Regions from separate parts of the Homo sapiens genome. Here region 1 is linked to region 2. The links are contacts of gene promoters, found by promoter capture Hi-C in human tissues and cell types (Jung and others, 2019). All regions are on one chromosome and are shown on one strand. The core of a region is centred on a gene start or on the middle of the fragment in contact, and the rest is flanking DNA. Distances in the headings are between cores, read along the strand shown. Region 1 overlaps OTX2-AS1 (OTX2 antisense RNA 1). Region 2 holds the start of OTX2 (orthodenticle homeobox 2).

Region 1 (5,834 bases), core at 1,350-3,849, 51 kb before region 2:
CCTCACGCCTGTAACCCCAGCACTTTAGGAGGCCGAGGCAGGAGGATCACTTGAGCCCAGGAGTTTGAGACCAGCCTGGGCAATATGGTGAAACTCCATCTCTACCCAAAAAGAAAAACAAAAACAAAAATCAAACTAAACTGAAAAAAAACCCACAAAACTTAGCCCAGTGTTGTGGCACACACCTATGGTCCCAGCTACTCGGGAGGCTGAGGTGGGAGGACTGCTAAAGGTTGGGAGGCAGAGGTTAGCAGCGAGCCAAGATTGCACCCTTGCACTTTAGCGTGGGAGACAGAATAAGACCTTGTCTCAAAATAAATAAATAAATAAAAATCATAATCTGATCTATCTATGCATACCACAATATGAATACTCTATCTATAGATACCACAATATGAATACTCTGGTGCCTATTGCTCAGGCATAACATTGCCAGATATGGCAAATAAAAATGTAAGATGGCACAAATAATTTTTTTAGTATGAGCATATCCCAAGCATTGCATGAGACATATTTATACTAAAAAATTATTTGTTGTTTATCTGAAATTCAAATTTAACTGAACATCCAGTATTTTATCCAGCAACCCTACCCAGGCACCCTGCTTTAAGGTCTCCAAAACATTTGGCAGAGGACACACCCAAAATGGAAGAGTTGCAAATTTTCTTAAAAGAAACTCTGTCATACTCATTTGGATAGGAGACAAAGAAAACAAATGCAACTTTAAATCTGCTTCACAGTGGTAGAGGTGTTTCTCTCAGTGCACGAACTCCATGATCAGATTATTGTGAGCTCTCTTTGGGCAACATAAAGAAGCTTGAATGCCATATGGTTATTTTCTGAGTCACCAAAACTCTCTGTTCTCCCGCGGTGGCAGCCAGCATCTTCTGTGATGCTTACACTAAATGGCAGAAATAGAACAGATTCAAGGGAATGTAGACTAGTGGATGCAAATGCATTCATGGAGAGAAGTTACATTCCAAAAAGATTTCAAGCCCTCCCGTCCTATTTCCCCTCTCACCATCGCCCACATCTGCCCCAAAGCATTCAAGCTTAGGGTGTTCTCATAGGAAGCTGTACTCTGAGGAATACACAAACGTGCCAAAACGTTGGGACAGAAAAAAAAAAAACTACAATATTCTCCGAATTAAAATCAGTTCATGGAAAATAAAAGAGGAGCCTACTGCTAGTTGTGAGTTCAGTGATGAAGTATGTGAAGGCTGTGAATGTCATCTATTGTGGGACATGTAATAAGACAACTTGGGGGAAATCTCTTTAGTATCAGAGGGTCACAACTACCAATAAGAAGAATGTTCATGCTTAGTTACTGGATGCATAAGGTCACTGGCAGGAATACCTGTCAAAACTGGCTGCTCTAAAGCCCTTTTTCCTTTCTCGTTTGTCTCCTATCCCACGTCCACACCTTTAAACCCCATCCAAAAATAAAGTGGGTTGCTCTCCTTGCTGTATCCCTAGATCCTGGCCCTGTGCCTGGCACACAGTGGGCACTGAAAGCTATTTATTAATGAATGTAGAGAGAAAACTTCAGTCACCCATTAAATTTTTTTTTTTCGAGACAGGGTGGTGCTCTGTTGCCTAGGCTGAAGTGCACTGGCACAATCAGCTTGCTGCAGTCTCAAAATCCTGGGCTCAAGTGATGCTTCCACCTCAGCCTCCCAGTAGCTGGGACTACAGGTGCACACAAGTATGCTAGCTAATTTTTTCTTTTTAAGAGATGAGGTCTTGCTATGTTGCCTAGGCTGGTCTCGAACTCCTGAGCTCAGGTAATCCTCCCACTTCGGCCTTCCAGAGTGCTGGGATTATAGGCATGAGCCACCGCATCTGGCCCAGTCACCTATTTAACAAATATTTTTAACTGTTTTTTTTTTTAATTTTAAAAACTGGTAATTTAACGGTACAGACCAACAGCTGGAGAATATAGCTATGCCTCTTTTAAAAAAATTTATACTTTTTCTTATATTAACTGCACTATAGAACTTAATTTTTAAGTTAAATAAATTAAAAAGCAATAAAATATAGTATGAAGTAGCTTATGTATGTTTTAGCTTTTAAGCATTTGCCCCATGTTATGTAATCTGAAAGACTCAAATCCAAAGAGCAAAATGGGAAAACCAATGCTTTTAAAAGAAAATCTATTTTTGCTCTGTGTGTTTTAACAAATGAGTAATTAGATATTTAGCCTATCATTGCTGCATGAATAAATCTTAGGGCCTACCTGACATTACAGGTTTAGAATTCTAAGGCTTACTTTGTAACATGGAATCTTTGCATTGTTGTGAGACTATTAAAATAGATTTAAGGTGATTATTCTGGAAATAGCATAAAAATAAGCTACATTTACTCAAATGAACTAGTTCTCTGACTTTTTCCATTAGGAAACCCTCTTGAATAGGGATTCTTGACCTGCTGTGGTATGTTTGGGTTAGCTGTATGTCTGCTCTTAAAAATATACCTTTCCAGACAGATACTTGAGGAGACTGAGAGGGAGAATGGCTTACGTCCTCCCAGTGAGTTTGACTCCAGGAGTTTGACACTAATCTAGGCAAATAGTGAGACCCCGTCTCTAAAAACATACATAAATATGTATGTGTGTGTGTATATATATATATGTATATATGTATGTGTGTATGTATATGAAGATATATATATATACCTTCAAGACTGAAAGAAGCTATGATTTTGAGCTGGAATTTGCTTTTAATCTTTTTCTCTCCAACAGTGTAGCAAATTAAATATAAATCATCCAACAATCGCTCCTTTTCTAAAACTGTTTTGATGCTTTATTCCTAACAAATAAAGCATATAGAATGAGAACCATAACATTTGATTAAAAATACACACACACACACACACGTATATACATACACACATGTATATATAGAGAGAGACTCCTGGCTTTATTATGCAACAATGCATTAAGCCAGCTTCCTTTGAGGGTCACATGTTCATCTGTGCCCATCCTTAGCAAACACTCACTTTAATGCCAACACATCCAACTAAAAACTGAAATCCATGAGACATGTATTATGCATTATGTCTGACCATTGCAAAGCATCTGATAATTAACCAAAAGTTTTCACCTTTCTTTGCAATAGTTATTATGCAGACATAACCATGGACCACAATAGAAAGAAGCACACACCACTCATATTCTGCCCTGACGAGAGTTACAGCCAAATTTAAATCCCAGCCTGGTGAGTGGATTCCATGGTAAACTGTTATGCAGAAAAGCTTCTGTCACCTACCACTGCCGCCTCCCGTTCATTTTCTGGCAAAACGTTAAGACTGAAGACACCAACATCAATTAGAATGTAAACCCATCTCTGCTTAATAACAAATCCTCTCCATCCCTGTCTAGCCAGAAACAATCTGCCTGCTTATTTCTATTTTCATGTCCTCTCCTCCCAAATTAGCTTTGGTTACATTCCCATGACTGGATAGTATTGATCTTGAGTTAAGAAGCCTAGATCATGTAGAACCTGGCATATCAGAGGTGCTAATGAATGAGTGGCTCACCTACATTTTGAAATCTATCATAAACATTCTGCTCTTAACATTTTTAGAGGGTAAAGAGCTTTATAATGTTGCACAAATAGCTCCTGGGAATTCAATATTCTACCGATAGCATTGCTTCTGTAGTCTCTGGCCTTTGGGATAAGAATCGGGTTCAGGAGCAATATTGCAGGTTTTTCCTAAAAGAATCTTATCTAAAAGTCTCTCTCTTCAATGGCTTCTGTGACTTTGTATTGTTCTTAGAATTTAGTCCCAACTAGTATTTTTCTTTCTGTGTCTGGCCTATTTCCTTAGCATAATGTCTTCTAGTTTAAAAAAAAAAACAAATACATAAAAACAGTGAAAACAGGATTTGTGGGGAGCACAGGAGGAAATAAGAAGATGTAGATCAAAAGGTACAAAGTTGCAGTAATGTAGCATTAATAAGTCTAGAGATCTGTTTGCACAACGTGAAGACTCTAGTTCGTAATTGCACAACATGAGGACTCTAGTTTGTAATATCATATTGTATCCTGGTAATTTGCCAAAAGAGTAAATTTTAGGTACTCTTACCACACGCGCACACACACACACACACACACACACACACACAGACACACACACACACAGGTAAGTATATAAGACAATAGGTATGTTAATTTGCTTGACTGTAGTAACCACTTCACTCACTACATATATGTATATCAAGCTAAGTATCAAAAAATCATATTGTGCACCTTAAATATATACAAAAAAGATATTTCTGAGCCCCAGATGTTATTGAGGAATTTCAAATGATATTTCATACAAAACAATTTAATTCCTAATCAACAAAAACAGTATGAAATAGTCCTTTTAGGTTCACTGAAAAAAACTAAACAGAACAAAAATACACACTAGCCCTAATGTCAGACTAGGCCTGGGTTGGAATTCTGGCCCCCTACTTCCTAGCTATGTGACCTTCACTAGCTACTCATCCTCTCAAAGCCTCGGCTTCTCCACCTTTAAAATGGGGATAATAATAATAATCTTACTGTGGCTGGGCACAGTGGCTCACACCTATAATCCCAACACTTTGGGAGGCTGAGGCGGGTAGATCACTTGAGGTCAGGAGTTCAAGACCAGCCTGGCCAACATGGCGAAACCCTATCTCTACCAAAAAAAAAAAAAAAAAAATTCAGCCAGACATGGTGGTGCATGCCTGTAATCTCAGCTACTCAGGAGGCTGAGGCACAAGGATCGCTTGAGCCCGGGAGGTGGAGGTTGCAGTGAGCTGAGATCGTACCACTGCACTCCAACTCCAACCTGGGCAACAGAGCAAGACTGTCTCAAAAATAATAATAATTATTATTACTATTATTATTTATTGTGCAGATTGAATGTGATAATGCATCTGCAATAGCTGGCACTTAGTACACAAAGGAATAAACATTAGCTACGCCTGCTGCTCTCATGATTACTAACTCTGACTATACTGAATAACAAATTGGAACAATGGTGTCTTTTGCGGGGAAGAAAAAAGAATATAACCTCAACCCCTTACCATGATCTTCAAGGCCAGTAAAACTCTGTAGCCTCACCTCATACCTTTCTCCCACGCCCCGACAGCTTGGTCACTATGCAATAGGCACATAGAGTAACAAGCACAGGGCTTCGTGCTTCTTGCTTCCTGTTTCTGAAATGCTCTTTCCCCAGCTCTGTGCACGTCTCTGGCTCCTTATCATCCTTCCAGTGTCAGTTTAAACAACACCTTCGCAGAGAAGCTTTCCCTGGCCACTCTATCTGAAGTCGCTCTCCCTAGCACCTCCCTAGCTTCCTGCAGTTCTCTTTATCACATACTCCTGTTTATCTTCTTTGTAGCCCTTATTACAATCAATAATTATCACCGGGCTATAAGCTCTGAGACGTCACCACTGTATCTGTAGTGTCTAGTATAGCACCTGGCACAAAGTTGGTGCTTGATATCTGTCAAATTAATTATTGAATACATAAATGAATAACTAGGCTAGTAATACGCATTTTCTCCTCTTTTTTATTCTCACGTATAGCATCTAGCACCATACAACATGGAAGAATTTAACACAATGATACTATTTTTGAGAACTAATAACATTAAGAAGCAGATATTTACAAACATTGCAGACATGTGCTAAATAAGCCTGACTTTCGGAAATATCACTGGTGTAACTGTTGAGCAGATTCTCTAAAACTCTTTTCTTTTTTATTTTCTTTTTCCTTTTCCTTCTCCCCTTCTCCCCCTCCTCCTCCTTCTTTCTCTCTCTTTCTTTTAAATTATGTATGATGTTGATTATTAGCATCTC
Region 2 (5,124 bases), core at 1,185-3,684:
TAGAGGGCAAAGGAGAAGCGGGAGCTGTCTGCTGCCGGCCGCTGGAAGGGCAAAACCCTCTCACGCCCCACCATGCATAAATCTGCCCCTGTCGAATAGAACAGGGGGATTTTTAGGGAGATTCAGCTGCCCCCGCCATCTGGGAGGACATCGCAAACCTCTACATCGGGCTTGAAAGGTTACCCTGGACACTGGACCCTACGGCAGATGGATCTCCCAGTCCAAAATGGTTTACTTGGTTTAGCTCACAAGCGCATGTTCTGATCATTCTCCATCCCACCCCATGCCCACTGTCCCCAAGGCCTTCCTCCGGCCTTCCCCTCTGCCAGATTCACAACGTCCATTTTTCTTTTTCGGCTCTTTTATGCTTTAAACATCATTGTGATCAAACTGGGGGAAACGTTGTCTTTTCTAGGGGTAGGAAGGAGACTCTGCTTCAGGTGATCGAGGTGGATTTGCCTTTCCTTCATCGAAAGCATCATGACTCTGACCAAGCGCACCCAACCAGTGCCTCCGACAGCCAGCGCCACGAGGGTCATAACGCCCGGGGCATTTGTTACCCCCTCCTCACCACCATCCCCATTAAAGGCTTCGGGGGCGGCCGCCAGGTGTTTCAGTACAGTGGGGGTGGGGTGAGAAAAAAGGTCGGTACTCACCCTCCCCCCCGCCCGGGCCCCTAGAAACTCTTGACTCCTGGGAACGCGACAGCCAGCGGGTCTCCGGACTGGAGCTGCTGCAGAGGGCCGGGAAGGAGCTGGGCGGGCTCCGGGCCCCTCGGGGGCTCGAGGGGCCGCCAGGGCCCAAAGCTCTAGGGACACCTGTGACAGGGGCCGCTGCCGCGGAGTCCCCAGCCCCAGGCCGAGCCCGAGCCGGAGCCCGGCTGCCGAGAGCTTGCTGCCTCGTGCGCACTCCCGTAATTCGTTAATTGCTGTAAATCCCAAGGACGGCCACATTTGAGTACACATACAGTATAAGAACCGACAACAAAGCGACGAATTAATTACCAACTTCATTAACATAGGTCCCCAAATTAAAGGCAGCGAGCTGTTTCTTTGGGCCCACTGGCCGTGGTGGTGATGGTAGTTGGTGGTGGGTGGGTGGCGGGGGGTGGGGTATTTAGGAAGAGATTTTATTTTTCTTTTCCTGCACTGGGTGTTGTGAAGCAAGAGCTGTCTTCTGCTCCCACCCCCACCCAGCTTATTCACACACACTCACCAGTTCCACTAGCCACCCCCCACCCCACACTCCGCCCAGTCTGTTTTTGCTTTTCTAGGGACTCGGATCCGTTTGAAACCTGTCCGGTCCCTGCTTTCTATGCCAGGCAAAAAAGTTGGGCTGGGGGTCGCACTCTCCGGCTCGGGCCCCCAGGTCCCATCACTTCCCAGCCTCTGGGCTCGCAGCCCGGGGCTCGGGCGGCGCCAGCCCAGGTAGCTCCAGGCCTCGCAGTGTCGGTCGTTTGGTGGCGTTTGTTCTAACACAGAAACTGTTTCCAACGGGGGCCTCCCTCGTTCGCTCTCTTCCACGATATCTTGTCGACCTCACACTCGCATCCTCGAGGCCCGATGTGGTCCCAGCTACTTCTCCTAAATGGGCCCTGAGATTAGATTCCGGGGTTCGTGTTCCCTGCAGTCTGTCGTGGGCTTCTCAATTCCAAAAAACCCCAGGAACCTACCAGAAGCCGGGGTCTCTCACTCGGGGATCATTTATTTATATGTGTAAGGATATTTATAAGGGCGTAGGGAATAGAGAAGACACTGAGTTTTAGAAAATAGTTTGTTCTTGGACTTGTGTATCTTTCTCTCTCTGTTTTCCCTACATGCCCACATCGCACTCCCAGGCCTCCCTCCTTTACCCTTTCTGGCCGTCAGCGTGCTCTGGCCCTGTCTGAGACGGCATAGTGGTGTTTTTGAGTTTCAGTCTGACTTGCTTTCTGCCTGTCATCCACACACTTATTGCTGGGGTTGAATGTGATAACCCAGTCACTCCCTAACCCGCCATTCTCCAGCATTTACTTAAATATTTTTATCTTCCATCTTACATTGCATGGGTTTCCTTTCTTCCCTTCCCTAAAAACAACAACAACAAAAAAAAAAAAAAAAAAAAGAGAGGAAAGGAAATTTCGGAGTAAAGGAAGCAGGGGAAAAGAGGGTAAGAGAAGAACTCCCTGTCCATCATTTTAATTATACAATTAGTTCACATGCTCCGGCCCATAATGTATATTTTAAGCAAAGCCCAGTGTCTTTAAAGAACATTCTGGTAATGTCGGAGGCCTGGATTTGTTGCCTGCTCGTCCCCCCGTGCAGCAGCGGCCTGTTTTCCTCCCCCTGTTGTGTGTTTTTATTATTTTCCCTCTGGCTTAGATGTGTCAATCATTCTCTCCCTGCCATTGGTTGGAGAGTTTGCGTCAAAAAGTTGCCAGAGAGGCGCTTTCTCAGCAAATCTCCCTGAGAGCGGGACCGGCCTCAGCTCCAACACAGCCTCCACTGTGATTAAAAATAAAAATTGCTAGAGCAGCCCTCACTCGCCACATCTACTTTGTATGTATTGCAGAGGGGCCCACGCGTGTTTAGAACTCTAGCCGCCTTCCTCATTTTCGTTCTTTAAAAAAAATTTTTTTTGGTTGTGTTTGACTTTTCATGGAAGGGTGAAGACTGCAAGGTTTCTAACTCAATACTCTTGATTTCTTTTAGGATAGCTGGCTATTTGGAATTTAAAGGATATTTGACTTTTTCTAACCTCCCATGAGGCTGTAAGGTAAGTGTCCGTCTGTCTTGTCTATATCCATATCTACGTGTCCCCGTGTCTGTCGGCCATCACCCCAGTACCTCCAATAGACCGACCGATGCCCCTCTGCGAACGTGGAGTTCTGTAGGCGGATGTATTTTTTCTCTTACAAATTTTGAGGTGTAATAACGATCGTTGCAAAAAGAAAAATGTGATCTAGAGATGAGAGCGGTAGTGGGAGAGAGGCAGAGAGCGTGCTCCTGGGGGTCGTCGCTTCTGCAAAACGTCGTCGAAACGCTGCGAATGTAATCTGGGGTGTTTTGGAAGGTTTTGTTTGTGGTTTTGTTTTTATGTCAACGCCGTTCTGGGCTTCTCCCGCGATCTTTGCGTTTTGGCCCCCAGATTTGGTTGGGGTCGTTTGGATGGATCCCAGGGACCTTTTTAGAGTCCGAGACAAAAAGATGCAGATGTAACTAGATGGATGGATTGAAACAACAATAATAAAAAGCCAGGCGCCTCCTTGGGCCCGCGCGCCGGAAGCTCGGTTCGCTTGCGGGTCGGCCTGGGCCGGGGGCCGCCGCTCGAGCCCCTGTCGGCCCCTGTTGAACGTGAGCGGAAACCGGAGCGGATAACCGAGGAGGCTGGGAGCGCTGGCTTCTCGTCCGCCCCGGCGCTCACTGCTCGCTCTCTTTGGCCTCCTCTCCCTCAGCCTAGCACAGCTCGGTTGTCTGTTTCTCCCAAAAGCTTCCAGATCTCCTTTTTGTTTTTAAATATCCACCACCCCCCAAAATCCAAACCACCCTGGGTTGTAATTACGCAGCCTCCCAACCCCCGGTTGTCGTGGTCCCCGACCCTGGTCACCAGGCCGAGCGAACGTGAAGAGTGTTTTTTCAACATGACTTTGCCGGGTCGCGGCCCGCCCCACGTAGCCCTCCGCGCGCACCTGGGGCGGGCAGAAGTGGCAGCTAGTGGCCCCTGCTCCGCCCAAGGCCGCGGCCGGGCCAGGGACCGGAATCCTCCCGCTGGGACCGCGGCCCCTCAGCTGTTCTCTGGCGGGGAGAGGCAGGGCTCGCCCGCGCGCTCGCGCACCCCCTTCCCAGGCTCCAGGACAATGAGGTGTCGTGGCTCGGGGCCGGGCGGGGGCCGAGGGGTTCGCCGAGGCCCAGCCTGTGCCATGGATCGGCCCAGTAAGAACCATCCGAAGGTCCCTGCCAGCGCCGGGCGCGGGCGACGGGTCGCTCTGCAAACTCCCAAGAAGTCTTCGCGTTGTTGCGTTCAAGTGACTCTTGAAATCGATGCCCGATTTCGGGACATATTTTTGGAAACCCAAGTCCCCTGTCAGGATTCCACCGAGTTGGCTTTTGCTTCCTTCACAGATAGAACTGGTGCGCGGGGAGCGAAGGCCGAGCGGCGCCGACCCTGCGGTGGTGGATTGCTTGGGGAGGGGACGGGGAAGTCGCTCCTAGAAATTCTCCCCTCCATCCTAGAGCTTCGGGGTCAGGATTTCTCCTGCTCAGCTCGGGACTTTTTACAGGCACCAAAAGTTATTAGCAACAGAGGGGAGTAGGAGAGGGAACTCCTCCCCCCAGAGTAAGGTAGACACCCAGACCTCAGCGCTAACACCGGGGCTTTCTCCCAACGATAATTAATAGTCAAGGCCAACCCTTTTGGCACGTTTCTTCCTCCCTCCCTCGCGGGTGGCAGAGTTATTTGATTCCCCGAGGCCAGAAACTTTCACTCGAGTTCGCCGGAGAGAGGCCAGCGCCGGCCGTTTTCCGCGGTGCCCACACGTCTCCTTTTTCTTTCTTTCCTCCTCTTCGTCGTCTTCCCAGCCGCAGGCCAGTCGCCAGTCCGCGTAGTTTTGTTTCCTTTCCATCATGCAGAAAATTAATCAGCCCGGACGAGAAGCAGAGAGGAGCATGGCGGCCTGTAATTAAGGGACGTGTGCCCCTCGGATTATCTCGTTAGTTTATCAAGAAAACATTTATTATAATTAATTCTCGGACGAGGTAATTATTGTTGAGCGAGGACACAGCAACTGGTAGATGGGCTTCTTGGAAGAAAAAAAAAACAAGGCGTGGGGGAGGGAGAAGCGACAGATTGCACGAATTGACCGTTAGATATAAGGCTGCGCGGGGGGCGCGGGCAGTGGAGCGGGACCTCGGGCGCCAGGCCTGCGGGGCTGCGGGGCTGCGGGGCTGCGGGGCTGCGGGGCTGCCGGGCAGGAACGCGGGACCCAGGCACTCGCGCCCGGAGGTGCGGTCGCCGACCGGCTGCCGGAACTCGCCGCGCGACCGCGGTCAGCTTCTAGGTATGAGTTCTCCAGAGGCCACCTCGTGAGCAGTCATAGTGAGGCGTGGATTTTTCAAAAGTTATTTCTTTTCCCCGTTCTGGACCCTG

The links. The method cuts DNA at HindIII sites, captures the fragments that hold promoters and counts their contacts. A contact is called where the count stands out against the background at its distance.
Region 1: a fragment that was not itself captured here is called in contact with the fragment with the promoter of OTX2 in region 2 in 1 of the 25 tissues and cell types used here (H1 embryonic stem cells).

Annotation. Positions count from the first base shown.
Region 1 is chr14:56,858,068-56,863,901 of GRCh38, reverse strand. All of the region lies in intron 1 of OTX2-AS1 (OTX2 antisense RNA 1), which reads right to left. Among named protein-coding and RNA genes, the nearest start is that of OTX2-AS1, 48 kb to the right of the region's middle. The HindIII fragment of the contact is 3,330 bases long and covers 935-4,264 here.
Region 2 is chr14:56,807,789-56,812,912 of GRCh38, reverse strand. OTX2 (orthodenticle homeobox 2) reads left to right here and starts at 2,434. Exons shown (of 5, transcript NM_021728.4): 1 at 2,434-2,537; 2 at 2,691-2,754. It also overlaps a transcript of OTX2-AS1 not described here. RefSeq lists an enhancer at 162-1,054. The HindIII fragment of the contact is 7,680 bases long and covers 1-5,124 here.